7 separate regions of the Homo sapiens genome follow, and regions 2, 3, 4, 5, 6 and 7 are each linked to region 1. Evidence: promoter capture Hi-C in 16 types of primary human blood cells and fetal thymus (Javierre and others, 2016). All regions are on one chromosome and are shown on one strand. The core of a region is centred on a gene start or on the middle of the fragment in contact, and the rest is flanking DNA. Distances in the headings are between cores, read along the strand shown.

Evidence for each region. Contacts are between HindIII fragments. The CHiCAGO score rates a contact against its expected background, and 5 or more counts as called.
Region 2: a contact is called between a fragment that was not itself captured here and the fragment with the promoter of MASP1 in region 1, in 2 of 17 cell types (total CD8 T cells and non-activated CD4 T cells). The highest score is 5.8, in total CD8 T cells.
Region 3: a contact is called between a fragment that was not itself captured here and the fragment with the promoter of MASP1 in region 1, in 4 of 17 cell types (neutrophils, activated CD4 T cells, fetal thymus and 1 more). The highest score is 8.8, in neutrophils.
Region 4: a fragment that was not itself captured here is called in contact with the fragment with the promoter of MASP1 in region 1 in 1 of 17 cell types (naive B cells); the score reaches 5.3 in naive B cells.
Region 5: a fragment that was not itself captured here is called in contact with the fragment with the promoter of MASP1 in region 1 in 1 of 17 cell types (fetal thymus); the score reaches 5.7 in fetal thymus.
Region 6: a fragment that was not itself captured here is called in contact with the fragment with the promoter of MASP1 in region 1 in 1 of 17 cell types (monocytes); the score reaches 5.3 in monocytes.
Region 7: a contact is called between a fragment that was not itself captured here and the fragment with the promoter of MASP1 in region 1, in 2 of 17 cell types (monocytes and naive B cells). The highest score is 8.3, in monocytes.

Annotation. Positions count from the first base shown.
Region 1 is chr3:187,290,257-187,293,870 of GRCh38, reverse strand. MASP1 (MBL associated serine protease 1) reads left to right here and starts at 2,134. Exons shown (of 11, transcript NM_139125.4): 1 at 2,134-2,243. The coding sequence starts at 2,239. LOC101929130 (a long non-coding RNA gene) reads right to left here and starts at 2,599. Exons shown (of 2, transcript NR_135551.1): 1 at 2,335-2,599. The HindIII fragment of the contact is 4,632 bases long and covers 363-3,614 here.
Region 2 is chr3:189,173,970-189,177,330 of GRCh38, reverse strand. The region is part of intron 1 of TPRG1 (tumor protein p63 regulated 1); the gene reads right to left. Among named protein-coding and RNA genes, the nearest start is that of TPRG1, 3.7 kb to the right of the region's middle. The HindIII fragment of the contact is 2,039 bases long and covers 246-2,284 here.
Region 3 is chr3:189,192,646-189,196,166 of GRCh38, reverse strand. The region is part of intron 1 of TPRG1 (tumor protein p63 regulated 1); the gene reads right to left. Among named protein-coding and RNA genes, the nearest start is that of TPRG1, 22 kb to the right of the region's middle. The HindIII fragment of the contact is 2,483 bases long and covers 100-2,582 here.
Region 4 is chr3:189,006,774-189,010,296 of GRCh38, reverse strand. It overlaps a transcript of TPRG1 not described here. Among named protein-coding and RNA genes, the nearest start is that of TPRG1-AS1, 61 kb to the right of the region's middle. The HindIII fragment of the contact is 7,683 bases long and covers 1-3,523 here.
Region 5 is chr3:189,092,972-189,096,320 of GRCh38, reverse strand. All of the region lies in intron 2 of LOC107986167 (a long non-coding RNA gene), which reads left to right. It also overlaps a transcript of TPRG1 not described here. Among named protein-coding and RNA genes, the nearest start is that of TPRG1, 77 kb to the left of the region's middle. The HindIII fragment of the contact is 1,154 bases long and covers 742-1,895 here.
Region 6 is chr3:188,989,904-188,993,488 of GRCh38, reverse strand. It overlaps the pseudogene ENOPH1P1. Among named protein-coding and RNA genes, the nearest start is that of TPRG1-AS1, 44 kb to the right of the region's middle. The HindIII fragment of the contact is 352 bases long and covers 1,123-1,474 here.
Region 7 is chr3:189,062,646-189,065,788 of GRCh38, reverse strand. It overlaps LOC107986167 (a long non-coding RNA gene), which reads left to right. Exons shown (of 5, transcript XR_007096249.1): 5 at 1,369-1,909. It also overlaps a transcript of TPRG1 not described here. Among named protein-coding and RNA genes, the nearest start is that of TPRG1, 110 kb to the left of the region's middle. The HindIII fragment of the contact is 765 bases long and covers 1,045-1,809 here.

The sequences.
Region 1 (3,614 bases), core at 885-3,384:
CTCCGTGGCAGCATGAATTGAGGGAATGTCTTTACTGGGCAGGGGCCCTCTTCCCAGCACAGTGTGCATTTTGCCAAGCTCTTTCTCCTTCAGTTTTAAAACCCTTGTGTATTCCAAGAGAAATGTCGTCCATGTGTTTCTGATTCATTTACACGTAAATCATTAAAATGTTGTTTTGTGAGAGTTATTTAATGTGTGCGGAGCCTGTGAGTCTTCTTAACGGGAATGTTAAAAGCTTTTTTTCCTGTGCTGACTGAGACAGAACACATTTTGCTAAAACAGTGCCTGAGTTCAAACATATCCTCCCATCTCATATACTTGTACCTGCTTTATCAACCACAGCCTCTTGATAATGCCAAGCTTGGCAAGGCTGGCATTCAAAAGTGTGAAAATTAGAGAAACTGGAGAGAAAATGGAGTAAGAAGTACAGTGAGAGTCAAGCCACTGTTCCCCAGAACGTGCCAAAGGAACGTTATCTGAGGGTAGACAGTGCATGTGTCTGCCGCTTTGGTGAGTGTGGCTGGCAGCCCTCTCTCTGGTACTCCCCTGGACACTTCTACAAGCACAGTCTTATTTAAGCCTCATAGTAACTCCCATTTTCCAAATGAAGACACAGAATCAGATACCTTAAGTATTGTGCCCAAAGTACACAGCTGTCTTGGGTAGAAAGGAAAGATTACAGCTAAACTCTGAGTCTAATCTTCTTTTCAAAATGACTCAGATTGAGTTTCTCTATGAATGCCGTCTGTGTGTGTGCATTTGAAATTCCATATGCATTATAAAATGTTAATGAGTAGCAGTGTAATACAGTGGCTAACACTTCAAATTCTGCCTCTATTACTTTCTAGCTGTGTGAACTTGGGAAAGTTACTTAACCTCTCTGGGCAATTTCCTCTGAAAAATGAGAATATTGCCAGCCATGTATACAACATATAAAGATGACTGAAAAGAATTCATATATTAAGTGCTTAGAGCAGTGCCTGACACGTAGCACTCAATAGCTGTTAGCTTCTAGTGCTAGTGGCAGTGGGGAGTCATAAATAACTGGATGATCTTGGCAAGTGGCATATTCTCTCTGAGCCTTAGTGTCCTCACTTGTAAAATGAGTATAACAGCAGCACTTTCACCAGTTTGCAAAAGTAACTTGAGATGATGTTAATGACTAGTACTGTGTCTAACACAGAAAAGGTGCACAGTCAAACTTAACTTTTACACCCAGATACACCTCTCCCTATTCAGTGTTGGTTGTTGTTGTTGTGGAGGGGGTAATTTTCTTATTATTCAGCTCATCTTAGATCTAGTGTTGATTTCTCCGGAAGCCATGGGTATAGACATATATACAGGCCCAGGTCTTTCTACACCCCTGGGGAGGTGAGATTTCTTGCTGCGATGGGCCCTTTCTGGGCTGGAGTAGAGCCGCACACACTCCGAGCAAGTAAACAGTGCCACAGGTATTGCTCATGGGGAGGAACAACCAGCCAACTTCAGGACTTGGTGCTTCCCCAGTTCCGGGCCCGTGGCTCTGTTCACAGGAAAACCTGTCGTTGTGTGTGACTCTGATCACGAGAAAACCTGTAGTTATTTGGGGCTCTGCTCACAAGGAAACCTGTAGTTATTTGCAGACAGACGCTCTGGGATTTAGACCTTTTTTTTTTCTTCTAGTGTAGGTGCTAGAATTGCCTTCTTAGTTGGTTGTTTCTATTTAATTGCTTTTCTTTCATGGGTGTCCTGAAGAAAAGCAGAAAATTATAGTCATCTGGCAAAAAAGACTAAAGAGAAATTAGACTTTGTCCCCTTTCACTCTCTCTCTCTCTCTCTCTCTACACACACACACACACACACACACACACACACAGAGTGATACAAATACCTGCTTGAGCCCCTCAGTTATTTTCTCTCAAGGGCTGAAGTCAGCCACACAGGATAAAGGAGGGAAGGGAAGGAGCAGATCTTTTCGGTAGGAAGACAGATTTTGTTGTCAGGTTCCTGGGAGTGCAAGAGCAAGTCAAAGGAGAGAGAGAGGAGAGAGGAAAAGCCAGAGGGAGAGAGGGGGAGAGGGGATCTGTTGCAGGCAGGGGAAGGCGTGACCTGAATGGAGAATGCCAGCCAATTCCAGAGACACACAGGGACCTCAGAACAAAGATAAGGCATCACGGACACCACACCGGGCACGAGCTCACAGGCAAGTCAAGCTGGGAGGACCAAGGCCGGGCAGCCGGGAGCACCCAAGGCAGGAAAATGAGGTACGTGCCAGGGGAGGAGAGGGCACGGTTCCCTTTTGGGGACCAGTGTCAAATAGCAGGGAAGGTCTGACCTTGTCACTGACAGACTCACCTGCGTGTCCTGCATGTGGTAGTGAGGGGCTTTCTCATCAATTCTTAGGGCTCTGAGAAGGGAGCTGTGGGTGGGCTGGGTGCCTTCCCCAGGACTCCAGGAGACATAAAACTTGAAACGGGAGACTTCGTGCAAATCCTGCTCCGGACGCTGCTGAAGCTCAGATTTCTCCCACTGCCTGCACAGGGTGCTGCCTGCTGGCGAATGTGACTCTCCTCCTGTTCACCCACAAGGCTGATTTTTCCGTGTTCCTCCTCTGGAAAGAGCATTGCTTTCTCTCTTCCAGCACTTTGTGAGTTAGATATGTGTTTGTGTGTTCATTCCTTCTGACCAGAAAAGAAACCAGCTTCCCATAGCTTGGCTCTGTGGTTTCTTCAACCTTTACAAGTTTGCCAGTTAAACCTCAATTTAGAAAACTAAAAATCTGTCCCCATTTTACAGTTCCCTATAAATTTTCTGCATTTCTCATTGAAATCAGAGGCAGCTGGTGGCATGAATCAGGCTATGAAGTACACCAAATGGCTCTTAAAGAGATATCATACTTAAAAAAAAAAAAAGGATTTTAGAGTTCTGAAATCAAGAACTTCAAATTCTAATTGGTTTTAAACTCTTTAACCTTTCTTATTCCTCATTATACTTGACACTCCTTACCAGACCTTTCATACAAGTTCTATCCTGCAAGTCTGAAAACCCAACCACCCTAGTTATTTTTATTAGTTAAGTGTTAATGCTGTTACACACACACACACACACACACACACACACAATGCTCTGCAGATGTGTAAGTCCCTAAACACATCTTTTACTATTAATTTTCTTTTCACTTGGGAAAGTGTTTTTATTTGTTTCTCTTCTGCAAAGTAACCTAGCAACTTTTCTGGACCTGAGACCAATGAGAGGCTTCAGACTATGTTAACTCTTTGAACTCCGATTACCTGTGGTTCAGAGAGATAACCAGGTCCTTAAAAAGTGAGTGCAATAATTCTGTTCTTCTTAAAGCCATAGTAATTTTAAACCTGCCATTAAACATCATTTTTCTTTCTCCAAAAAAAAGTGATTTATGTCAATCTACATTGAATGATAATCTCATTTATCTGTCAATGATCTGGTCTGAATCCCACCCTACCATTCAGTGCCCCAGCCCATATCAAACTACTTGGCTGAGTAACAATTCTGTATCTTTGCATATGCTCATCCCTCAACCTGGAGCAACCTTCTTCTTTATTTTCCACCTAGAAGACCTGATTGTTCAAGCTGGCACAAATATCTCTTTCTCTCTC
Region 2 (3,361 bases), core at 16-2,515, 1.9 Mb before region 1:
TTACTCCCCACTTAACATTTCAAACTTAACCTGTCCATAAGTAAGCTCCTAATACTCCTTCAAAACTTATTCATCTCACCATCTTCTCCATCTCAAATAAAGGCCACTCTTTTCTACCTGTTGCTCAGGTAAAACTGTGGTGTTATACTTGACTTATCTGTCTCACTATCCCTCATTCTATATATCAGCCACTAGAATCAAAACATTCTCATTCCTGCACAACCAGCTACATCCTCATCCAAGCTTCCACATCATTCATCTGGATTATAGCAATAACTCCCTAAGAATCTCTCTTCTTCTGCCACCTCTCTCCCCACTTCATCCTCATCTGTTCTCAACACACAGACAGAAGGATACCTTTCAAACATAAGTCAGACCATGTCATTCATCTGCTCAAATCTGCAAATAGCTCCTATTTCAATCAGAGTGAAAGTCAAAGCCCTTATTGTGTCTTACAGGGCCCTGCATTATCACTTTTCCCTGTTCTCACTCCACAATCATCTAACTTCTAACTTCATCTCCCAAAATCCAAAGATCTTTCCACTCAGTTCGTTCCACGCCTTATTTTTCAAAGATGCCAGGCTGGCAAGCTCTTGCTTCAAGGCCTTTGCACTTCCTGTTCCAGCTGCCTGGAATACTCTTTCACCAATTAGTGCCTCGCTGACTCCTTCATATCCTTAAGTCCTTTACCCAAATAATGCCTCATTCCACCCTAAGCACCCTGTCCAAAATCTAGCTCTCCATAACTTTCTATCCTCTTTCTCTGTTCTATTGTTCTCCATATCTCATATATTACATATTTTACTGAATGGTTTTGTTTATTTTCTGTATCACTATAAATATAAGCTCCTTGAATAAAGAGATTATTATTTTTTTTCACTGCTGCTATTACCAGAACTACTTATGGGGTTGTAGAAAAGACACAATTTTCTTCCCAAAACTTAAAACAGATATTCAATAGCTTTCAATGAATGACACTTGAATAGACGTTTGAATTGAACCATTGTTCAATAAATAGTTTAAAATGAATGAATCTTGTTCAAACACCTCATTTTACTCTGTGTCACATCACCTACATACGTCTCTTGAGGCGCAGAACTCTGAGATATAAGTACAACTCTAAGCCAATCCCACACACAATCATACACATGAAAATGAGAAAAGTTTGGTTATTTATAAAATACCTTGGGGTTTGGAGTTGTGTAAATATTAAATATTGCTTTGGTGACAGTGTAGCCCTTTGCAAAACAAAATCTTTCCCTTCACCCACCTGGAATGCTGTGAAACACAGTGGAGCATGCATATATTTACGATTTTCTCAGTAATGTTTATTATGAAGGAATCCAGGGTCAGGATATCAAGAATCTTCTATGCCTGTTCCTTATAGAGTGACTGCTTCCCAGACCAAAGGACAAAGGTTACGTAATAAAAAATCTTCCCACATCACACAAGTTAAGAACTCAACTTGTGCATCATCATTTTTCTAACATTCAGATAACCCAGAGGAATAGACTTTCTTGAGAGAGAGAAACCTTTTCCATATTTTTAAATGAGTCTTATAGGTTGCTTAACATATTTTAAAAATATTTTTATCCATCTTTCTAATTCTACTGTATAGCACCACCTTGCCTTACTCACTTCACATGATACTGTGTATTGTATTCATGTAAGTGCTCAACTTAATCCTGTTCTTTTTTTTCTGTTACTTCTGAAAATCCTAATGTAGAGCTAAGGTGTGCCTACACAGACATTCTCTCACTGACGACTTACAAACTTGGATAACAATGAGCTAATAATCATGAACTAATGTCTGGTCAATAGCCGTAATGCCCATCAAAGACACCATGTTGTGCCTGATCTGAAACCCTGAGCCTGCCAGCACCCAGGATCTGGTGAAGACCCAGACTTCTGGCCTCATTCCACTTCAGTTCCACTGGCCCTATATTGAGCTGTAGTAAATGCTTCCTACCCTTCAAATATACTTCAAATAGTATTGACTTGGGAGTTTACTTAAACTCTTCTCTTGTTGAAAACTCTTCTCACGTCTATTGAGCCAAAGCCCAGTTCGAGTGCCATTTCATCCTTACAATTATCTCTGATGGCAACCTACCTAGTTGCCATAAATCTCTTCTTCGTGAGACCTCAATATTTGCTTTCTTCTTCGTCTTGAAATATTTATCATATTCTGTCTTGCATTATAGTTACTTGTGTACACATTTTCAATACTAGATGGTAAGCCCCTTTGAGAAAGGGTCTCTACTCTTTACCCCTAAATCCCTAAGCTTAGGGTTGTATAATACACCATAGGTGATCAAAAGGTGATTATTATATTAGTGGGTGAATAAGAGAAAACATATCATTAAGCTAGTCTCTAGTATTTCAGCAATTTGGATTCTTTGGAAACAGGGCATTATATTGCTATCTATGTGCTATCATACATCATAATTTCTTTTCTTGTTTTTATGCCATTGATCGATTGAGTAAAGAGGATTACCCTGCAAGTATCAACTGTCCTTCCTATTCTTTTATAGGCATCTAAATATTATGCTGCAGCAGTGTCATCTTGCTTAATACTTTAGCATTCAAGTCACTGAGTTTTGATAGCTAGCTGAAGAAAATATCCTGGGTAGGTATCAGAGCCAACGGTATGTTCTACTGAAGTCATCATATATCCTATATCTCTTACATAGTGAGAGGTTAGGAACAAATAATTAACTTCACCTCTTCCCTGGTGCCATTAACCTGTAGCCTGGTCTGTCATTATGTAGAACTAGGTTTCCGTTGAAAGAGAATGATTGAAAGGAATCCTAATACCTAAGAGATTGGAAGAGATCAGAAGTGGAAAATTCAAACACTTGGTAGCCTAAATCAGGTAAAATGGGAGCTGTGGAGGATGGGGGAAAACATGTTCTATCTACAGGAAGAAGTTGCTGCCCGGCCCCAGCACAGGTGTTATCCATGAGGGGATGTGGGTCCATTATTATCAGATCTCCTGATCTTCCTGAAAACAAGATATCTGGATTTTTTACAGGAAATTTCCTAGATATCAAATACTTTGGAACTAGTTTTATCTTGTTTAACATGGCAGCACAAACAAAGCACATCTGCATGCTGGATTCACCTGTGGCTGCTGCTCTGCAAGCTCTGGAGTAAATGAATTCTCGGACTTGACGCTGCCATTAGATTAAACAATGTTGAGTAAAATATCAACTATCACTTCAAGTTTTAAAAGGATCAAACTGAGTGGCACTTATTTAGGAAGATCCCAGAAAATATAAAAATCCAGACAGGCTGAAGAAAATGAAGATGCCACCACCTCTTGCCCATCTCCCCATCTTATACCTAAGGAGCAGCTCCAACA
Region 3 (3,521 bases), core at 92-2,591, 1.9 Mb before region 1:
GGAAGTGACTTACCTCAGGTCACAAAGTAAATTAATGGAAGCAGTAGGGTTTCAGGCTCCTCTTTTCTGCTTAAACTGCCTCAAATCCCTGAGAAAGCTTTGTTGGCCTATGAAGCAAAAGAAACCTGCTCTCTGAGAGAGGTGATGTCAGCAAGATGGCCGGCTAGAAGCCCCCTAGCACTCTACTCTTTACAAAGACAGTCAGAACAATAAATAAACAACTACATTTTAATGAAAATAACCAAGGAAGGGCACCAAAGTACATCAGGGGAGTAACAGAAACCCTGGTAAACACAGAAATTTGGGATTGTTACGTAGAGATGGGAAGGAAATGCCAGGCCTCTACCACTCCATCCCTTAATCAGGATCACCTAGGAACTAGGAGGAACTTCTGTCTACAACAAGGAAGAAAGCAAGAGGATCCTAGGAATCCCCATCAACACCTTGGACACCAATAGATTTCAACCCTGGGATCCCCAGCTGTGCTCACAGGCACTAAGCCCAGCTGTGGGAGCTGACTGGAGTCCACATAGCTGTGCTCCCTCCAGAGGAGATGCTGACACTGTGCCCTGCCCCCTGTGGCCCACACGGCTACTGCAATACACTGTCTTGAATTAGAACTATGGCTAGAGTGTGTCTTGCTCTAGCGGTGAGTAGTCATGGCTCTCCTTTATCCTTGAGGCTAAGCTACTGCCAAACCACCGCAGACCAGTGGCCAAATATCCTCAAGCCAAGCCACAATCAGCTGTTACAGCTTTCTCTGTTGAGTCGAGCAGAGGTGAAGCCACTTCACCTACCACTCCCGCTGCCTTTTCAGCTAGAGCTGAAGCAGGACTCTGCCTCTTGGGAAATAGTACTTTAGCCACTAAGAGAAGCCACACCTCCCTAGTGTCTAAATTGAAGTAGTTCCCTTCATCCCAGGAAACAGTGCCTTGACCACCAAGAGTGGTCATGCACCCCAGTACCTAAGCTGAAGCAGCAACCTGCATCCCAGGAAAACAGTGCCTAGGTGGCCCAGAACAGTCACCATACCCTCAGGCCTGAGCTGATACAACATATCACCCCCTAGGGAATCAGTGCCCTGGTTAAGCTGAGCAGCTTTGCATCTCAGGGTTGGGCTTACATAGTACCCCATGCTCCAAGGAAACAGAGCAGTGGCTGAGCTGAGATACCTCACCTTATAAGCCAAATAAGTCTAGTACCTTTGGAGCTGGACTAGCCCCCTAGAGTGGTGTCTTAGCTGCTGAGACACCCCTCTTCCTGGGGAGTGAAGTCATCACTGTGCTGTCCCCAGCCCAGCTCCAGGGCTCAGATAATAGCCATGCTCCACCGTTCTGGGGTACTGTTGCCACTGCACCTGGCCTCACAGAGGCTGAGATACTGCTGAGCCCTGAAATCCCAGGGTCTATAGCTACTACTACACAGTATCTCATTCCCTGGGACTCAAGCTGCCACTGAGCCCTGTTGGCACAGGTTTCCAAATTGCAGCCATACTCTGCTCTGCAGGTCCAAACCTCTAGGACACTCCCTTTTCCCCACAGATGTGCCAGTACTCTGAGCTCCCACCCATGGGTAGAATCACAATCATGACACAGACTCCTGAGCCCAAGCTGTTAGGAGATGCCTCAGAGTCACAGATCCAGGCTCTGTGGGCAACCTGTATTCAACCAGCCAAAGAGAGAAAACTTGCAGCCAAAGACCTAGGTGTCACAATAGGTTCATGTAACACTGAGCCCAGGACCTTTGCACCACAGCTGCTATGATTACCTGTACCTGGAACCCAGCACCACTGCAGCTACTTGTAGGCTGTGTCAGACCTGATAATAAAAGGGATCTCCTTGGCTAAGTCTCTCCACTGTAGGAAAAGTAAGGAGAGAAGAACCCCAAAGCGCTTGATACCTAGAACATTAACAACCTATGCTGTCATGGCCACAGGCTTCTACAGCCTAGGCCACTGAGGTGCCCACACTTACTACTGACATTGAATACAGCTAAAGAAGCTGCACAGAGATCATACCATTGCACCTATGCAGAAAAACGGTCACTACACCCTTCACAACCAGCAGGCAAAAAAAACAACAGCAGGTGCAGGTGAAAATCTTTCTTTATGAAAGCTATTGTAGAAAGTTTGCAAGAGATGATTGACCATATGCACAGACAGCAACACATGAATAAGAAACATGAAAAAGCAAGAAAATATGATGTCACCAACAAATTATAATAATTATCTAGTAGCCGACCTCAATAAATAGACAAATAAATGAATCGCCAGGAAAAGGAATTCAAAATAATCCTCTTAAGGAACAAGAAACAAACAACCAAAAACATACGGACAGACGATTCAACAAAATCAGGAAACCAACTCATGGTATGAATGAGAAATTGCACAGAGATAGTAGACATACATAAAGCAGCAAACAGAAATCCCGCAGTATTCTGAATAAGTTGATTAATAAAAGAGACAGCCTCAACAACAGACTTGATCTAGCAGAAGAATCTCTGAATTTGAAGATAGGTAATTTGAAATTACAAAGTCAGAGAAAAAAAAAAAGAACTAAGAATGAAAAGGAGTGAGGAAAGCTTACAAGACTTATGGACACTATTAAGTGAACAAATATTTGTATCATGGAAGTTCCAGAAAGAAAAGAGAAGGGAAAGTGTATGGAAAACCTATCTAATAAAATAAAGCTGAAAGCTTCCCAAGTCTGGGGAGAGATATGCATATTTAAATCTGGGAAGCAAAAAAGTACCCAAATAGATTAAACCCAAAAGTTTCTCTGTGAAGCACAGTGTAGTCAAACTGTCAAAAGTCAAAGAGAATCTGGGCAACACAACAAGGCTCCAATTCCACAAAATATTAAAAATTAGTTGGACATGGTATCATGCACATATAGTCCCAGCTACTCAGGAGGCTGAGGTGGAAGACTTGCTTGAGCCCAGAAGTTCAAGTTTGCAGTGAAATGGAATTATGCCACTGCACTCCAATCTGAGTGACAAAGCAAGACCTCATCTCAAAAAAAAAAAAAAAAAAAAATTAAAAGTCAAAAACAAAGAGAGAATTCTAAAAACAGCAAAATAAAAACATCAAGTCACATATAAGAGAATCCCTGTAAGACTAAACAGCAGATTTCTCTGCAGAAACCTTACAGGCAGGTAGAAAAGAAGATTATATACTCAAAGTGCTAAAAGGAAATTATTGACAACCAGGAATACTATACCCAGCAAAATTATCATTCAGAAATGAAGTGAAAATAAAGTATTTCCCAGACAAACTAAAACTGGGGGAGTTCATCACCACTAGATTGGACTTATGAGAAATGCTCAAGGAAATCCTGCAACTGGAGGCAGAAAGTTAATATTCACTATCAAGAAAACATCAAAAGTTTGAAATTCACTGGTAGAACAGATACTCAAAGGAGAAAGAAAAAAAGAAGCAAACCTTATAATGACAGAAAACCATTAAACCACAATGATAGACAATAAAAGAAAATGAAAGAAACAAAGGATACACAAAACAACCA
Region 4 (3,523 bases), core at 397-2,896, 1.7 Mb before region 1:
TATATACCCAAAGGAATATAAATTTTTCTATTATTAAGACACATGTTCACTGGAGCACTATTCACAACAGCAAAGACATGGAATCAACCTAAATGTCCATCAGTGATAGACTGGGTAAAGAAAATGTGGTACATATACACCATGGAATTCTATGCAGCCATAAAAAGGAAGAAGATCATGTCCTTTGCAGGGACATGGATGGAGCTGAAGGCCATTATCCTTAGCAAACTAATGCAGGAACAGAAAATGAAATACCTATGTTCTCACTTATAAGTGGGAGCTAAATGATGAGAACACATGAACACATGGTAGGGAACAACATGCACTGGGGCCTGTGGGAGGGCAAGGGGTGGGAAAGGATCAGGAAAAATAGCTAGTGGATGCTGGGCTTGATACCTGGGTGATGGGATGATCTGCGCGCAAACCACCATGGCACACATTTACCTATATAACACACCTGCACATCCTGCACATGTACCCCTGAACTTAAAATAAAAGTTGGAAATAAAAAAAAGAGAGAGAATTATTGCACCTGGGTGTCGACCACCTGAGAGTCATAAGATAACACTATTGGTAAATACTAGATATAAATATTATATTTATTTCTATTGGGAAAGAACTTTGCATTAATAAATGGAAAAAATGATCAGAAAGCATTAATAGAGAAGATTATGAGATGATTTTAGTTTTCTTGCTTTTTAAAATATATTTCTTTGCATTTCTGCAGGTGCTGTATATGTATATAAAATCAGGGGTTACTTTTACAATTGGAGGGGAAAAGAGACCTTTTCACTGAGTAGAATTTTTACTTATCCAATTTCGCAGGCCCTCCTTAAAGGGTCTCAATACATCTGCCTTCCCTAACTAGCATCATTCTCATCCTACTCCTTGGTCTAGTATACCCACTTCTCTTAGGTATTATTTACATTTACTAGGCCAATGTCCTTTCCCTCAGACCAGTCAAATAAATTATCAATATTAATGGGAGCTAATGAGTTAATAGGGTTAAGTTTTCCACAATCCTTCCACAACCCTAATGAACATACTTGGATTTTGATCATGGCTTCAGAAAACACACCCCAAATTTGGACTCTGTAGCTCTCATAGCCAGCCGGTGGGCCACGAAACAGTGGTGGAATCAGTGAATGCATTCTGGTTACTGATTGAAGATAACCAGAATGCATTCATTGATTTAGTAGGCCTACTCTGTGCTGGGGTAAACAATTAGTTCTATGGTATCAAATGAAAAGCCACAGCACAAAGGCAAATAGCAAATCCCCAGTTTACTCGCACACCCTTCTCAATCACCTTTGCCGACCCACTCATTCTCAATCCAGGAAGAGTAAAGAGGTCTTGGAGAGATAAGAAAAAGTACTGAGTTGCCCATTCTCTGCCATTAGGCACTATAGAATAATGCTTAAAAACTCTATTCAAACAGAGACAATATTTTATTGTGTTCTGTTGTGTTTTCCTCAGCACATCTTAAATCCCAAGGGACTAGCCCGATGGCTGTTTCCTTTTCCATACAATTTTGATGCCTTCCAGTGTCCATAAACTCTGAAATCTATTGTGCATGGAGCATGCACAATCTCTTACAGCAAGAAGAAAACCCAAATTAATAATCCCATTGCTTTAGAGCCTCCCAGGCTTCTTGTCAGTCCAAGAAAGACAGTAAAAAATACTGCTTTGGAAGGAAAAAAAAGCATGAATAGCAACTAATTTCTCATTTATACACTCAGTAGTTAGTTAAAGTAAAATTGTACTAATTCTTGGGCTGTGAACTACATTTTAGAAACCCAGGCCAAGGTTATTTCCACTACATTATGATTTGCAACTTTAGCGGCACATTGGAATCACCTGTAAAGCTATAATAATCACTGATCATCAATCATATTTGAAGAGATCCTAATTACATTGTTCTGGGTACAGCCTGTGCATGAAGAGTTTTAAAAGATGTCCAAGTGATTCCAATATGCAGCCAAACTTGTGAACAACTGATCACAGTGTGCTGCCTCTCCTAGTGACTAACTGCGAACAAAGTAGATTCCATCAACAGTGGACAAAGTCGATGGCACTCGCATTGCTCACCCCATTGGCCCCTCTCACCACTCACACACATGCAGATACATGTGTAACATGACCATTATTTTTATTTAACTGATGCCTGCTGTCTCCATTTAAAGTAGGATCCCTTGAATCATTTTTTTTTTTCTAGAACGTTTTTTTTTTTTTCTTTCTTTTCTTTTTTTATTATACTTTAGGTTTTAGGGTACATGTGCACATTGTGCAGGTTAGTTACATATGTATACATGTGCCATGCTGGTGCGCTGCACCCGCTAACTCGTCATCTAGCATTAGGTATATCTCCCAATGCTATCCCTCCCCCCTCCCCCCACCCCACCACAGTCCCCAGAGTGTGATATTCCCTTTCCTGTGTCCATGTGATCTCATTGTTCAATTCCCACCTATGAGTGAGAATATGCGGTGTTTGGTTTTTTGTTCTTGCGATAGTTTACTGAGAATGATGGTTTCCAATTTCATCCATGTCCCTACAAAGGACATGAACTCATCATTTTTTATGGCTGCATAGTATTCCATGGTGTATATGTGCCACATTTTCTTAATCCAGTCTATCATTGTTGGACATTTGGGTTGGTTCCAAGTCTTTGCTATTGTGAATAATGCCACAATAAACATACGTGTGCATGTATCTTTATAGCAGCATGATTTATAGTCATTTGGGTATATACCCAGTAATGGGATGGCTGGGTCAAATGGTATTTCTAGTTCTAGATCCCTGAGGAATCGCCACACTGACTTCCACAATCGTTGAACTAGTTTACAGTCCCACCAACAATGTAAAAGTGTTCCTATTTCTCCACATCCTCTCCAGCACCTGTTGTTTCCTGACTTTTTAATGATTGCCACTCTAACTGGTGTGAGATGGTATCTCACTGTGGTTTTGATTTGCATTTCTCTGATGGCCAGTGATGATGAGCATTTTTTCATGTGTTTTTTGGCTGCATAAATGTCTTCTTTTGAGAAGTGTCTGTTCATGTCCTTCGCCCACTTTTTGATGGGGTTGTTTGTTTTTTTCTTGTAAATTTGGTTGAGTTCATTGTAAATTCTGGATATTAGCCCTTTGTCAGATGAGTAGGTTGCGAAAATTTTCTCCCATTTTGTAGGTTGCCTGTTCACTCTGATGGTAGTTTCTTTTGCTGTGCAGAAGCTCTTTAGTTTAATTAGATCCCATTTGTCAATTTTGTCTTTTGTTGCCATTGCTTTTGGTGTTTTGCACATGAAGTCCTTGCCCATGCCTATGTCCTGAATGGTAATGCCTAGGTTTTCTTCTAGGGAATCATTTTCTTAAAGGACCAGATTGTAAATATTTTAAATTTTGCAGGCCATGCGGTCTCTGTAGCAATGACTCAAGTCTGCCATAGAAAATACATTCAAAAATGTGCCTGGCTGTATTCCAATAAAACTTTATTTACAAAAACAAACACTTAGGCGAGAAGCTAAA
Region 5 (3,349 bases), core at 69-2,568, 1.8 Mb before region 1:
CGAGAAGCCAGAATAGAAACTGAGGATTCAGAAAACAAAACCAAAGAAAAGACAGTAGTGATGGGGTGGCACTAGGGCCTCCCAAGCAGGGGGAAGAGCCCCAGGACAGGAGAAGGAAGGTATACTGAGTGGAGAGCAAGCATTCCATTTGATGCAACTGAGGTGTGGTATGCAGAGCCTGCTGGGAGAAGCCTCCTATACAACTGGTGTTTAATAACTGTTTGCAAGATTAATGTGCACATGAAAACAATGATTGACCATGAATGCAGTTAGCAGTGTCTTATCGTTTCCAATTCCCACAGTATACATGAGCAAACGTTATGGATACGACTGATAGAGGTCAAGAGAAGTGAGATGATTCATGCCAAGTGCAAATCAGAGACAGAGCTGGGCCCTGACCAAACTCCCCTCTCCTCTCCCAAGGTCTCATTCACCAGACAACATTTTATAACGTTAGGCCCTGGCTGAGCTTCTTCTATCCCAACCTGAGAAGGATACTGAAGAATGAATAAGGGAAAGACAGACATAAGCTGTGAGGTTCATCACTCAATGTACTTCTGAATGCCCACTTCCTGACAAGAGCAATGGGGATTCTGAGATGAAAAGATGCTGTTTTTGCCCGCAGAGACTTATGAACAAGACATTCAGGGGAGAGAAACCCATCTGACCATGACTTAGAGAGTTCAGTGCTAACCTAAGTACAGAGTATAGAGAGGAGCTTTGCCTGAAGTTGGCGAAGCTTTCCAGAGAGGATGGAGAAGACGAGAGTAATTCAAGAGATTTTTAAAGAACGGAGACTGATGAAACAATACTAATACATCAATCCTAAGGCCTTGAAGGGCAGGGACTCTGTCTTGTTTGGCTATGGGTCCCACATACCTAGCATCATGCATGCCACCGCAGAGACATTCCATAAATATCAGATGAGATACTCTGAACTCAAGGGCAAGGAAGAGACATGCCACTGAGACACAATTTTGAGTATGCCATGAATTATCTATGCTCTGGTCTATGACTCCCCCACTCTCCCTTTGTTCATCATTAGAAACCTTGCCAGTCTTCATTACCCAAATCTGCCTCTAGCAGGCAGCCTCTCCTAGACTGGCAATTAGAAGGTAAAAGATGTCCTGTTCCATTGCAGAGCCTTGCAGGTACTCAGAACAAATGAAACAACAGCCACTGAAGATCAAGTCTTTGTTTCACCTTCACACAACCTCTCTGTCATCTCCCTCTCTCAGCAGGCAGGGGCCAGAAGAATTGCATTGGTACCCTAGTCGTGAGCCAGACTCTCTGTAAGGAAGTCTACAATCAATACACATGACACAAGACTGATATGATGCCCCAGAACGGAGAGTGCCTCTGTAAAACTGATGCCAATCATTTTCTACGGTTGTGCATCCTGCTCCTCCAGGATGGATGGGCCTGCTCCCTGCCTCGACCAGAGCAAGGAGGAAGGCTTCAGTGATGGATGACAGCAAGAGGATTGTCACCCTAAAGAAGGGGAGTTATGGAGTTCTCTCACCTCCCCCATCAACATTGACACACACAGATACTCAGCACTACCTATCATGTCTCAAATCGCCTAAATTTAAGACACTTCCTCTTTTTGGGATTGGCTGCCAATATACAAGTGGCAGGCAAGAGAAAATCAATTACACCTGGGTGAAGTTGAGTGCTATAATTCAAACAGCTGCGTGAGTCAGAACAAATGACGCAAATTTAAGATGCAAGCCGGAGTCTGTGAGGAGGTGGAGGGATTTCAGCTGGATAAATAGCAGGTTGATCTCCAAGCTCAAGGACGTGAAGCAGTTCTGACAACCTGGGACCTCTTAAAGAGCCATTTAACGGGGATTGTCAGCATTTTGAATAGATCCTTTTTCTTCAGAAACAAAGCTTTAAAAGTAGGCATGCAGAGGCATAGTGGAATGAGGAAGAGAAGGAGGGGGCAGTTATGGAGTGTTGGAAGAAGAGAGAAAAATTGTACTGGAGAACATCTCTTCATTTTGTGAGATCCAGGGGCAACGTTGCCTCCTTCACAATGTCTGTTCAGTACTCCACTTACTCAGGCTGAGTGAGGCCCCCTTTCCACTTACTTCATACGCTACCCTGTTACAGTACATATAATGTGTTTTAGCACTCTGTTCCCAAAAATATCTCTGTTTAGGACTCATCTGATGGTCCCTGAACCCAAGAATTTCATGGAATTATCTTTGTGTCCCAGGGTTCGAGCTTAGGGCAAGGCCCATGGTAGAAACTCCGTGTGTTTGGAGGCTGTATCTTTCAGTGAGATTCAAGTTACAAACTGAAAAATGAACAATTTATTAAAAATATAGATAGATTCAAACCAGGCTGATGTCCCGAGGGCTGCTTTGACCATCCCTTTTCTGTTGGGCTGCTTTCTTTATCCAGAATAATATTATCTAACCCTAATTAAAGACAAGTAGAAAGGCCCGTAGAGGCACGGTCAACTCTAAAGATGCAGATTTTATAAGTACAGAACATCAGGATTGTGTTTCCTTTGCAAAACAAATGCCTTTACAAACAGTGGAAAACATTTTAAGAGTGTGAGCTTCAAATTTCCCAGAACCCGAAATATTGGAATTTAGTGGCATGAGCCCAAAATACCAATGGCTTCACCTGTCTTTCCATTGTCTATCCACATCCTGAAAATGAAAGGAAATAGCCCCGAGATGAAAGATCACATTTAGCTGCAAATTCAAACCAGGTTCCAAGATTCAAATGGCTTCTTCTTTGGTGTCTAAATAAATATTGCTAATAAAATCCCCGCGAGCCCACAAAATAAGAGACCATTTCATTCAGCTCACAGAAACAATCCATACAACACAGAACAAGATGTCTCTCCAATAAATTTATGAAAATCTGCCTGTTTAGAAGCCAAAATTAATATTCCTCCTGTTCTCCTGGGTCAAATCTGTAAGGTCACCACAGCCAGGGCTGTGTCTGAATGTTGAAGGCTACTCAATTAATCTTCCTGTTTGCAGAGATGTGAAAGAATTTAAGGAAGGTCTAAACATAAACCCAAGCAAAATGCAGCTGAATTCTTTATCGTGCAAGTTTTACCTCCATTAATCTTCTCCTTCATCTTTTATATTGTCTCTTTATTGACGCTCTCTCCTTGAGTTTACTTTCTTTTATTTCTTCTTTTTTCTTATTCTCTCATGCTCTTTGTCTCCATTCACTGTCCTCTATACAGGGTTCGGTTTGGGGGTATTATCTAGTTATGCTGGAATATTTTGGCTATTTCAACTAGGCAAATATCTGTATATTTAGCATTTTCTGTTTAATCACAGAAGAAGAAGGAGAAATAATTAGAATAAAGATAAATCAT
Region 6 (3,585 bases), core at 49-2,548, 1.7 Mb before region 1:
GAGTTCTATTATCTGTTGTGAATTGGTGCAGGGCTCTGTAAAACAGTTTTTAGGCAGCCTCATTACACCCTTCCACACCTTCTGCTCCATCTGAGTGATACTGCTGTGATTGCTGGGTAATGTTTGCCATTAGACGAGGCACAAAAAAGAATCAAGCTATGACTAATTCACTCGATGGCTGTGTGCCCTGTGTCATGCTCATTAACACCTCTCAACTCTGTTATTAAAGAGAATCACACAGCAGACCTCAGCGGGCTCACATTTATACTATAGGCTGCCTTATTTTTCCATTGGAACCCCATTTTTATCACAGACTAGTCCTGAGCACCCTTACCTTCTACCCCAGGCCTATTCCATCCTGTTACACTCATAAATGCTTAGGAGAATCTACTGATAAGAAAGGCCTTTAGATTGTCTGAAAATGAGGGTTTTGCCCACTGAAGAATCAGCCAATTTGATTTCAGCTGAAAAGTCATCCTGAGATGCTCCTAATGAAAGCTCAATGAAAGAAATAACAATAACAACACCTTAAACTATTTGTTGAATTTATTAAAGTATATCCAGCCCTTTTATAACCATTATTTCCCTTGAGGTTCACAGCAACCCTGTATGGTAAGCTGCATAAACAGTACCCTACTATTAGCTTCAACACTAGATTTCTAACTCAGAGGCGACATTATATAAAAGACTAATAGCTCATCTACAATGCTGAGCAAAATGTAAAGGAATAGCATCATTTTTGTTAGGCTTTCTCAAGCATAGTAATCAAAGTAATAGAAAAAGCAGAAAGAGAGAGCGAACATTTTTCTTAGTACTGACTCATGTGTTCTAAGATGATAGGGGCATCATACTTACCTTCCTTAGTCATTTAACTCCAACTGAATAGTCAGTCAGTCAGAAGTCCATAGGACTTTGGGGTCCATAGGGTAAGTATTGCAATTGTTCACCAATATCTAGATATGCTCTACTTCTGAGTACATGAAGGATTCCACTAATCCACCTCTCGAAGTTGGACATGGCCATTTGACTTGATTTGACCATGAAATGTGAGTGGAAGCATTTAATTGCAGATACAGGATTCTCTAGTTTGGCTCTTCCCGTACCATAAGAATTGTAAAAGCTTGTATCTATATGGGGAGACCAAAATATTTAAGCAATTAAAATACTGAGTCAGCACATGGGACACAGTTGTCCTGTAGAAACACCTAGATCTTCAGTAGAAACCGAATGAGCAGTAAATAAGACTGTGTCACCAAAAAAAAAAAAAAAAAAAAAAAAAAAACTACTGTAGGTCAGGTGCAGTGGCTCACACCTATAATCCCAACACTTTGGCAGACCAAGGCAGTAGGATCACTTGAGGCCAGGAGTTTAAGACCAGCCTGGACAACACAGCAAAACCTAGTCTTTACAAAAGAATAAAAAAGTTAGCTGGGTGGGGTGGCATGTGCCTGTAGTCCCAGCTACTTGAGAAGCTTAAGTGGGAGAATCATTTGGGCCAAGGAGATTAAGACTGCAGTGAGCAGTGATTGCACCACTAGACTCCAGCCTGGGTGACAGCCAAACTCTGCCTCGAAAAAAATAATTACTGAGATTTTGGTGTTATTTGTTACCAGAGCATAACCTAATCTCTACTGACTGATGCAATCTTCGTTTGCTCTAGACGTATCATACAATTGAGCTATTTTTAGAAACAAAAAAAATTAGAAAAACATTAGAAATGAAAAAATGGGGAAAAACACTGTAATTGGGCTAACTTGAATACTATGTCCTCCATGGAACAATAAACTACAGCCAAGGTTAGGATCAAGGTCGTGAAAAATCATGGTAGCTCAACTAACACTAATTAATTGGAATCAAAAAAAATAAGAGTTTCTAAATAGAAATAAGAAGTATCAATAATAAAGAGAAGCCCTCTTTGGATTGTATCTTAGGGTGAATCCATTGGGGAAAGTGATGATAACAAAAACAAATTCAACTTTGGGAGGCCGAGGCGGGCGTGTCATGAAGTCAAGAGATCGAGACCATCCTGGCTAACATGGTGAAACCCCGTCACTACTAAAAAATACAAAAAAAATTAGCCAGGCGTGGTGGAGGGTGCCTGTAGTCCCAGCTACTCGGGAGGTTGAGGCTGGAGAATGGCGTGAACCCAGGAGGTGGAGCTTGCAGTGAGCCGAGTTCACGCCACTGCACTCCAGCCTGGGCAACAGAGCAAGACTCCGTCTCAAAAAAACAAATTCAATATTCTGGTGGGAAAGGGAGATCCAATTATCTCTAACATGGGTCAGTGACAGAATTTAGCAATGTATTTCTAACTATTTGAATAATTTTCCAGAAAGAGATTTCCTGGGCCAGCCGGATGCTTTTCTGTCCATTCTCTCTCCTACTATAGGGCACCACTTACTCACCAGAAAAACTTGAAGCCTGAACTGGAAGCCTTCTATCTAGATTCTCCAGAACCTCCTTTGCTCTATGATTCCAGATTTGACTTTGCTGATAAGAAGAACTCACATGAGATTTTGAAAGGCAGGACTTGGGGGATCAAGGCAGGCACATAGCTAACCAGAAGGAAGTTATTCAGCTAACCAAAATAGTCAGCTGGGGGCTCTCCCTGAAAATCAAGAATTGCAGCAGTTTCCTAATACATTTTATAACTACTCACTACAGAGTTTCAGGGTTTTTTCCCTAACATTTTGGATATACCCTTCCTGATTTCTCTCCCAGGTAATCCCTAATTTCTATATTAAACTTTACTATTTCTGCATTGCTTTACATGACTGTTTTCCTGTTCTAACAAGGACTGGAACAGGTAGAGATCTAGTTGGATACAGGTAGAGAGATTCTAGGCTGGTTGACTATAAAGTACTTAAAATGGTCAAAAATCAGGGTAGGTTTGGTAAAGAGATAATGAAAGAAAGAGAGAGAGAATGAGAATGAATCAGCAAATTGATTGAATTCCCTTTGAAATAATACAGCAAACCCCAGGGTCCTACATCAGAGGACATATTTCCCTACAAAATGTTTGAGTTTTTTTTTTCTTTTACTATGAAAGATACAAGTGATACAATTGATGAAATGTGAATAATATCTATAAGATTAAATAATGTTGCATTCAAGTTAATTTCATGATAATGATTGTACCCTGGTTATGTAAAAGAATATTCCTATTTTTTGGATGAATTCAGGGCTTCTGGGCAGCAGCCTTCTCTAGTTCCGGGTGTGCAGAGGTGGCCTCTCCCAACACAGGCCAGGCTGCACACAGTCGCTGGCTCCAGGACTGTACAGGGCCGCAGTCCACGTTGCTCTACATCCTCCCTACCGTCAGGCAGATTCCCATAGTAGCATCCAGTAGGGAAATGGTCGTGCTTTCAGTGCCCACTGAAGTCAACCTGATCCCATTAGACGTGGAAGGACATTTTATTTCCTTATATTGAAGAAAATGTTAGAGTATCTGCAGACATATTGGGCAGAAGAGGAGTGCCCGCAGGATATCAATCTCTTGAGGAAACAAGCTGAAGAGGATGGGGCTGTTCCTATCCCTGCAGCAGGAAGATATGCGGCCTGGGAATGGAGTGGATGATCTGCAAC
Region 7 (3,143 bases), core at 178-2,677, 1.8 Mb before region 1:
CTATTGAATAAGAGTAGTATTAAAGACATCCTTGCCTTGTTCTCAGACTTAGGAGGAAAGCATTTAGTCTTGGACCAATAAGTATGATATTAGCTACAGTTTTTTTGTAGATGTTCATATCAAGTCATAGTAATTCCTATTTATAACTTGCTAAATGTTTTTATCCTGATAAATGTTTGATATTGTGAAATATTTTTTCTGCATCAATTGATATCATCATTGCCTTTTTTTTTTAGCTTTTGGACATGGTATATTACATGAATGATTTTTGAGTGTTAAGTCACTTTTCTATACCTGAAATAAATCTGTTGTTCATGATCTATAATTCTTTTTAAATATTGTTAGATAGGGATTGTTAATATTTTGTTTAAAATGTTTACATCTAAAATCATGAGGGATACAAGTCTGTGACTTTCTTTCTTTGTACTGTCTTTGTTTGGTATTGGTATCAGAGTACTACTGGTCTCATAAAATAAGGTAATAAGTGTTTCCTCTCTATTCTCTGGAAGAAATTGTGCAAAATTTGTGTTAATGCTCCTTTAAATGTTTGGTATTATTCTTTAGTAAAATCATTTTGGTCTCAAAATGGTATTTTTTTACTTCTTTTTTTTTAAGAGACAGTCTAGCTCTGTTACCCAGAATCAAGTGTACTAGCATAATTTTAGCTCACTGCAGCCTTGAGTTCCTGGGCTTCAGCAAGCCTCTTGTTTCAACCTCTTGAGTAGCTGTGCGCCAACACATACAGCTAATTTTCAAACTTTTTGTAGAGATGGAGTCTCACCTTGTTGTCCAAGCTGGTCTCAAACTCCTAATCTCAAGCAATCCTCCCATCTCAACCTCTCAAAGCACTGGGATTACAGGTGTGAGCCACTGTGGCCAACCTTGAGATTTCTTAATTATTAGTTTTTAAATTATTAATCCAATTTTGTAATGATTCTAAGACAACTTACATTATCTATTTCAACTTGTTTGAGTTTTTGTGGTGTCTAATTTTTTAGGAATTTGTGTATTTTTTTAGTTGTTGAATTTATAGCACATAAAGCTTTTCACAGTATTCTCTAATTAGCAATGTAATGGCTGCAGCATCTATCATAATATCCTCTATTTCATTCCTGATATTAGGGATGTCATCTCACTTTTTATTTTTACTAGTATTGTTAGAGATTATTGATTTTACTGACTTTTTTGAAGAATCAGCTTTTGCTTTCATTAACTTTGTCTATCATTTCTCATTTTAAATCTTATTAATTTCTGCTATAATCTTTCTTATTTTTTCTTATGCTTGCTTCGGATGTATTTTGCTTTTTTTCTAATCTTTTGTGAAAGAAATTTAGATTATTGATTTGAATTTTTTTTTCTTGTGTACAGGAAAGCGTTAACCCAGTTGTCCTGAGTTGCTCCAACTTTGCAGTTCTCAAGAAAGCCCTATTCTGTGGTGAGGCCTTAAACAGTTCTTGGGAATTGAGATCTTGGAATGTTCTAACTTCTAGGAATGCTTTAAACACTTGGGACCTTGAGCCATATTATGCCAGGCTTTCTAAATAGTTTGTATGAGGAATGTGATTTATGAACAAACTCATTTCCTTTGGGGACCTGGATCTTCAGCAACTGTAGTCAGTCCTACGGATACTATATCCCTATGTAACCAACCCACAATGAAAATTGTGAACTTATAGGCTTAGACAAGTCTCTGTAATAGACAAAACTTTACATGCACCTTCACAATTTATTCTTGGAAGAATTAAGTGCATCTTATGTGTATTAAGTGTATTTTCTAGTGACTCCACTAGAAGAATATTCTTAGAAGCTTGTGCCTGATTTTCTCCAAACGTTACCCATACACCTTTTCTCTTCACTGATTTTTCTTGGGACCCTTTACTATAATAAACCACAATCATGAGTATAATGACTTCTAAGTCCTAAAAGCTCTTCTAATAAAATCACCAAAACAGGAGTGGTCTTGGGGACCTCCAAAACACTTTGCTTCTAGAGTAAGTTTTTACTGCTATAAATTTCCCTCTCAGGACTGCTTTAGATGCATCCCATATGTTTTGACACATTATTGTTTCAATTTAATTTGGTTTTGTATATGTATTAAATGTCCTTTGAGATTTCCTTTTTGACCAATAAAGTATTTAGAAGTATGTTGCTTAATTCCCACATATTTTGAGAATTTCCTGTAGACTTTATTTATTTCTAGTTTGATTCCATTGTAGTCAGAGAAAACACACTGTATGATTTCAGTTCTTATAAATTTGTTGAGGTATATTTTATGGCTCAGAATATGGAATATATAACTGAATGTTAAATGGGCACTTGAAAAAAAGTTTATTCTGCTATTGTGTGGAGTTTTTACATATGTCGTTTAGATACTATTGGTGAATAATTGTGTGGTTCATATCTTTTAAGTATTTTCTGATTTACTGTCTAGGAGTTCTAGGAGTTCTATCAGTTGCTGAAAGGTAATGCTGAAGTACTGAATTATAACTGTAGATTTACCTATTTCTCCTTGCAAATCTATCAGTTTTTGCTTTATGCATTTTGAAGCTCTGTTTTTTGGTGTGTACATTTAGAATTACTACCTCTTCCTAGTAAGTTGATCCTTTTATTATTATGTAATGTGACTTTTTCTCTAGTAATTTTCTTTGCTCTGAAGTCCACTTTATTAGATATTAATACACCACACCTGCATTTTTGCTTAAAGTTTGCATGGTAAATTTTTTCTATTCCTTTATTTTCAATCCACCCATATCATTGAATTTAAAGTGAATTTCTTGTAATCAGTATATCATTGGGTCTTTTTTGTTCACTCTACCAATCTCTTTCTTTGATTGATGTATTCAGATAATTTATATTTAAGATAATTTTTGATATGTTGGTACTGAAGCCTAGTATTTTATTGTTTGTTTTCTATTTCATCTGGTTCTTGTTACTCTGTTACTCTTTTATTGCCTTCCTGTGGGTTATATGAAAATTTCTTATTATTCTATTTTGATTTATTTATAGTATTTCTCAGAGTATTTCTTTGTACAGCTTTTGTAGTTTTTTGTGGGGTGGGGATATTACAACATATACATATGGCTTATTATATGGCTTATCACATTCTACTGGCATCAACATTTCAGACATGGAATCCTCCCTTT